2 separate regions of the Homo sapiens genome follow, and region 1 is linked to region 2. The links are contacts of gene promoters, found by promoter capture Hi-C in blood cells and fetal thymus (Javierre and others, 2016). All regions are on one chromosome and are shown on one strand. Each heading gives the region's core, a stretch centred on a gene start or on the middle of the fragment in contact. The rest is flanking DNA. Distances are from core to core; before and after follow the strand shown.

Region 1 (2,959 bases), core at 138-2,637, 1.0 Mb after region 2:
TCTAAATTATCAAAGGCTACAGACACTCATCCAAAGCATTCCTCAAATTTTTTCAATCGTTGCTTTTAGGCACACCTTGAGGTTTTTAAGTTTACTCTGGGGCAAGTCAAAAAGCTTACCTAAAATAAAGCACTTTAAGCAAGAATAAAATGATGCAGCTGGTCCTAGAACACACCGGAAATAAAAATCGTTGTCTTCAAAACCCGAAACAAGAAATGACATGCTTTTAGCAAATTTGACTTTCATGTGCAGGGGGGAGGGGGCACTGTTTTGACAATCCACTAACTACACTGTACATCTACTCCACCTGAAAGTTTAACGAAACTCTTCAAGTTGGGTCACCCAGGGACCGAACTTCTACTCTAAGAGACCCAATCCAGCCTACAAATCAAAGAACATCCCCAAATGGTTTACCCTTCTCCCGACCAAACCCTTTCCCCTGGGCGACAGAATGTTTTCAAGAACACCAACACACCCTCCTGTGATCTCTCTCCAAACACAGGACACAGGAAGAACCGAGGCCACTAGTCTCAGATAAGCGGGTGATGACTGCTGCCACTCCACGGGCGGCCCCTCTGCAGAATGGGGTCGGTCAGGACCGGCGCGCCGGGTAAAGAACAATACACGAGCCCAGCTGCAAACAACACAACTTCCCACGAGTCTGCGCGGCGGGTCTCGGCGGCGGAGAGGACTTCGGAATCCGCCACCGGGCAGGGGCTGGGGGAGGAATGGTGAGCAGGATGAGCGCTGAACGAGGACGGCGAGACCGCCAGCCTCGCTGCGGCTGCCTGCACCGGCGCCCGCCGAGCAGACTGGAGGGATGCAGCCACCAGCCTGGGTTCCACCGCTCTCACCAGGCGACGCGGATGCCCCGACTTCGCTTCTCTGGGAGGCGACCCCCGCCTCCCGGGGCCGCCAGGGCGGTGGGGGGCGGGGAAGGCCTCGCCGGAGGCTTGGGAGCCTCCTCGGCCCGCCACCGAAGGGAAAGCGGTCGGGGCGCGGGGGACAATAGGGAGCGGGGAGCGCGGCCCGCCAGAGTGGCGCCGCTGGCCGGCTGGGCTGACTGACGCGCACGCCGCGAGGCGCGACTGGGCTCCGCTCGGCCCGGCCGCCGCTCCGCCGTGGTCGCGGCGCCCCCGGCGCTCGCAGTCGTGCCTCACCTCCCATCCCCGCCGCCCAGGAGAGGAGCAGAATTAACACTCTCAGCAACACCATCTTCCGCTGCCGCTGCCGCCGCCGCCGCCTCCTCACGGGTTAACAGCAGCACATCGATCCGGAGGGAGAAGCTGAAGGGGCTTGGTCCGGAGCCTCCACGGGAAGCCGGGACCTCCCCTGGCAGGAGAAACGGCGAAGCACCTCCCTCTCGCTCCACTTCAGGGGCCGGCAACGCTCCTAGCTCCTCCAAAACAGGGACCTCCCTCCCCCTCGTTCGTTTCCTTCCTCCTTTCCCCGCTTTCCTTCCCTTGCTCGTTCCCTCTTCTCTCCCCCCCTCCTTCGAAACTCAGACCTCCGCCTCCTTCCTCACCACGTGACGCGCGGGCACCCAACTGGCACGCGGAGCCGCGCCCCTACCTCCCGCCCCTACCCGTCCCCCAGGCGCTTCAGGGGCGCGCGCATGCGCGCGGGGGACGGTTCCCGTGCTGCTAGGCCTGCCGCCGCTTCCTGTCCGCCGGCGGAGAGCTGGGATTGGGCTTGGGAGGCGGGGTTTGTCCTGGTCCCGCCCCGGGGCGGGAGCGCTCCTACGCGGAGATAGTGCTCCGCTACGTGTTAGAGCTGCTGAGGACCTTCCCTTGGGCTAAAATGGTCCGTGGAAGATGTAAGCAGGGCTGCTTTCGACTTCTTAACGTCACAAGTAACAGAGGTTTTTTTTCTTCTTTTTCTGCCTCTCTTGGTGCACCACAGCTACCAAGTAAACAAAAAGTCCCAACAAGCAGTAATTATAGCGGCAGCTGCCCCAGTGATGCGAACATAAATGCAAAGACCTTCAAGCAGCAGGAAAAAAAGACACCATGTCCGAGATGTAATTTTCCGAGCTCTTTACAAATTTATGTCACAGACTAAGGCTTTAGCCTTTGCAAAAGCATGCAACCTGAACCAGACTGTCTTGAATCTCCAGTCCAGAAAATGTCCTCTTTTCTCTCTGTCACATCTTTGAAGCGAATCCACGCACATCTTCTCCCCAACTTCTTAAAGCTTGTGTTTGTTTTCTCGTAACTCATTTTGATTCTTTAAACTTGGATGTCATGAACTAGAACTTTTTATGGCCATTTAATTAGATATTCTTCATCTATTTGGTATCGTGCTTGAGTAGGCCGAATTAGGGAGAGTGTGTGTGTGCGTGTGTGTGTGTGTGTATGTGTAAATTGTTTTGTTTTGCTTTCTAAAGACAAGGTCTCCGCTGTCTCGCCAGGCTGAAGTGCAGTGGTGTGATCATAGCTCACTGTAACCTCCAACTCAAGCCGAATTAGGGAGAGTGTGTGTGTGTGTGTGTGTGTGTAAATTGTTTTGTTTTGCTTTCTAAAGACAAGGTATCCGCTGTCTCGCCAGGCTGAAGTGCAGTGGTGTGATCATAGCTCACTGTAACCTCCAACTCAAGCGATCCTCCCGCCTCGGCCTCCCACAAGTGCTGGGATTACAGGCGTGAGCCACTGCGCTCGGCCTTAATGTTATTGATACTGTAATAAACTGGAATTCCTATACTGTTACCTGTATATTTTATACCATTTATTACCATTAACATAAGTGAAGAGAATTTTTTTTTTTTTGAGACGGAGTTTCGCTCTCGTTGCCCAGGCTGGGGTGCAATGGTGTGATCTCGACTCACCGCAACCTCTGCCTCCCAGGTTCAAGCGATTCTCCTGCCTCAGCCTCCCAAGTTGCTGAGATTACAGGCATGCACCACCACGCCCAGCAAATTTTTTGTATTTTTAATAGAGACGGGGTCTCACCATGTTGGTTA
Region 2 (3,127 bases), core at 206-2,705:
TACAATTTTGTTAGGAAAGGAAAAAGAAATCTCGATGCATAACACAATTAGAGAAGTATAATATGCTTCATGCAGTGAGGTTCCAACTTTAACTAAGCCCTATAATTGTGCTGAAAAGAAAGAGAAGTTTGGTTTGGAATAACATGGGAAGGTTCAGGGAGGAGGTGAGACTTCAGCCAAGACTTACAATTGGCAAGGGGAGAAGAGATAGCCTTCCACAAAAGGGTAACAGAAGGGGGCAAAATTCTGAGGCCTAAAAGAAAGGCATCCTTGCCTTGGGGACACCTGTGGCCTACAATCAGCACATGGGGAGTTCACTACTGTGGGAGAAATAAAGGCCTCCAGCTGGGGTCCAGGGGTGGGGTGAGGGAGGCTTGCGGGGTGCTTATCACTGTAAACCAAAAATAAAATTTGAAGGTCCGCCCTCAACCGTCTGAATGGACTTCCTCCTGTAGTCCAGGGTCCTCCAAATTTAACCTAAAAGACTGGCTTAGGCCATGATGGGAAGCTGAGGTCAGACATGCCTCATTATGCCCTTCTTTCTTTTAGAATCCAGGAAAAGCTACACAGCATTTAATATCAACACATATACCTTGAGTCTGATAAGAAACACAACTTACTTTCTCTGAAGCCTGCTAACTGGAGGCTTCATCTGCATGATAAAATTTCGGTCTCCACAAGTTCTTATGCTAACCTAGACATTCCTTTAAATCAATTACCAATCAGAAAAAAACTTAAATTTACCTATAACTTGGGAGCCCATCTTGCCCCACACCCGCTCTGCTTTGAGTTGTCCCACCTTTGTGGATTAAGCCAATGTTTATCTTAAATGTATTTGATTGATGTCTCATGTCTCCCTAAAATGTATAAAACCAAGCTGTGCACCAACCACCTTAGGCACGTGTTCTCAGGATCTCCTGAGGGCTGTGTCACGGGCCATGGTCACTCATATTTGGCACAGAATACATCTCTTCAACATTTTACGGAGTCTTTTTTTTTTTTTTTTGTCAGTACCACAGACAACCACCTGACTCGAGGACCTTACCTATTTCTCATTCAGCCAATGCTGCAGCACGTTATTAACGTCCTTGAAAGCAAGTCTTATACAGAGAAAACTTATTTTGATATATTAATGAATCTGATCAGAATGGACCAGATTGGGGGGATAGATAAATGGTTGCAATTGTGCTCCCTGGAATAGCTTTGGAGTTTACCTAGATCTTCTGTCTCTTTAGGACAGAGCTGCTTGTGTTTATATAGCATCTTACACAGGATTGAGACAACTTCAATTTCCTATATCAAAAAATCGGGGGAGGGCGGTGGGTTATGGGGGTGTTCAAACCTCCCAAGTGACATCTGCTGTGACTGCATGTCTTCCTACTCTTTCCACTGGGATGCACCTCTGGTAGCTGAACTATAACGAGAAGGTAAAAGCTGTGTCCAATACCTATTAAGCTGCCTTCTTCTCAACAGCTGGGGAGGTGGCGGGGGTGGGGGGGGGCGGAGGGAAGTCTTTTCAACAGTTTTACACATTTGGAAATAGGCCTAAAGTGAAGAAGGGGATTTTCAAATTGGTGTGTTGGAAAAGGGGCTGGGCTTTTGAGTTTGAAATCTGGTGCTGTCACTTACTGGTTTTGTGCCCTGGGAATATTTATTTCAGTTTTCATGCCTCTGTTTTTCTATAGGCAAAGTAGAAAATTCGAAAAGGTCCTCAACGAGTTTGTACAGCTGCTCCCACTCCCTCATCACCTCTTGTGGGCCTTTGGAAATGTATGTTGGAGGAGACATTTTGGATTGTTGCAATGACTTGGGAGTGCCATAGCACCTAGCAGGCAGAAGCCAGAAACACCAAATGTCTTAACAATGCTTGAGGCGGTGCTACAAATGAAGTCCTTCTCCAAATGCATTGAGCCCCAAGAAAAATCGCTGATTCTGAGGAACCTTCCAACTTTAACAATTTCAGGACGTCCCTAAGCTGAGCTAGGAGGCACCACGCACAGGCCGGAGGCACCACGCACAGGCCAGAGTCTCCCAAATCCTGTCCCGCACTCTCTCCCACCTTATTAATGGCCAGCTCATCTTTCAAGTTTCGACTTGAACCACTTCTCAGAGATATCTTCCCAGGTGCCCATCCCAACGTTACTATTATATCATAATTTGATTCTCCCTCCCCCCATCCCCCCGCCAACTCTGTAAACCCCAAGTATAACACAGGACGTTGCTATTTGTTGACTGACACATAGTGCTTGGTGAGGTCACGCTGGCGCTGAATACTTTTTGTATAAACCGACGAACAGCTGATGACCGCATGAATGCTCACACAAGGGGAAAGGGCGCCAAGCCAAGGAGCCGGCGTCATCCGACGTAACTTCCGCCCTTTAACGCTCCTGCGGACGCCCCCTTCTCCCAGTCCGTGTTTGTTTCCGGAATTTCAATAAAGCTCGATTCGGCTCGAAGAAGACCCCGTTCTTCCGGGAAAATGGCGACTCCCGCTCGTGCCCCGGAGTCACCGCCGTCCGCGGATCCGGCGCTAGTAGCGGGGCCTGCCGAGGAAGCCGAGTGCCCGCCGCCGCGCCAGCCTCAGCCCGCGCAGAATGTGCTCGCTGCCCCGCGGCTTCGAGCCCCAAGCTCCCGAGGACTTGGCGCAGCGGAGTTTGGTGGAGCTGCGGGAAATGTTGAAGCGCCAGGAGAGACTTTTGCGCAACGAGTAAGCTGGGGTCCCGCGGAGTCTCCGCCAGGCTCCTTCAGCTCGAGCTCCCTGGGCGCTCCCCTCCCCTCCCGCACTCTGTTCCCTTCCCTGGAAGGTGACTTTGACTCAGTCACATTCGCTTCAGTCCTACGGGCGAGTGGACGGAGGGCTTGCTGCGGCAGAGCCGTGCCTCTTCCTGGCCAGGCACGTATGCCTGCGAGGATAGCTCGGATTGAACGGCTACCTGGCGTTGCAGGGAGTTAGTAGCCCCTGGTCGGTTTTATTTACCCGGGGACTGTGGTGGTTCCATGAGTCTGCTTTCTAAACCCTTTTGTCGCCCGCACCCCTAACCCATAACAGATTGTCAGCTTCATCTCTGGATTCTAAGCTTACAGGAACCGTAGGAAATGGGAAGAGTGGGATATGAAGAGGGGTTTA

What was found. The method cuts DNA at HindIII sites, captures the fragments that hold promoters and counts their contacts. A CHiCAGO score of 5 or more calls a contact.
Region 1: the fragment with the promoter of ADAM10 here is called in contact with a fragment that was not itself captured in region 2 in 1 of 17 cell types (fetal thymus); the score reaches 7.8 in fetal thymus.

Annotation. Positions count from the first base shown.
Region 1 is chr15:58,748,320-58,751,278 of GRCh38, forward strand. It overlaps ADAM10 (ADAM metallopeptidase domain 10), which reads right to left and starts at 1,388. Exons shown (of 16, transcript NM_001110.4): 1 at 1,161-1,388. The coding sequence starts at 1,215. RefSeq lists enhancers at 521-1,156, 608-737, 1,828-2,007 and silencers at 848-1,137, 1,468-1,757. The HindIII fragment of the contact is 2,079 bases long and covers 113-2,191 here.
Region 2 is chr15:57,704,249-57,707,375 of GRCh38, forward strand. It overlaps GCOM1 (GCOM1, MYZAP-POLR2M combined locus), which reads left to right. Exons shown (of 17, transcript NR_104371.3): 14 at 1,686-2,124. It overlaps POLR2M (RNA polymerase II subunit M), which reads left to right and starts at 2,466. Exons shown (of 4, transcript NM_015532.5): 1 at 2,466-2,707. The coding sequence starts at 2,595. RefSeq lists an enhancer at 2,361-2,580 and a silencer at 2,901-2,950. The HindIII fragment of the contact is 3,240 bases long and covers 1-3,075 here.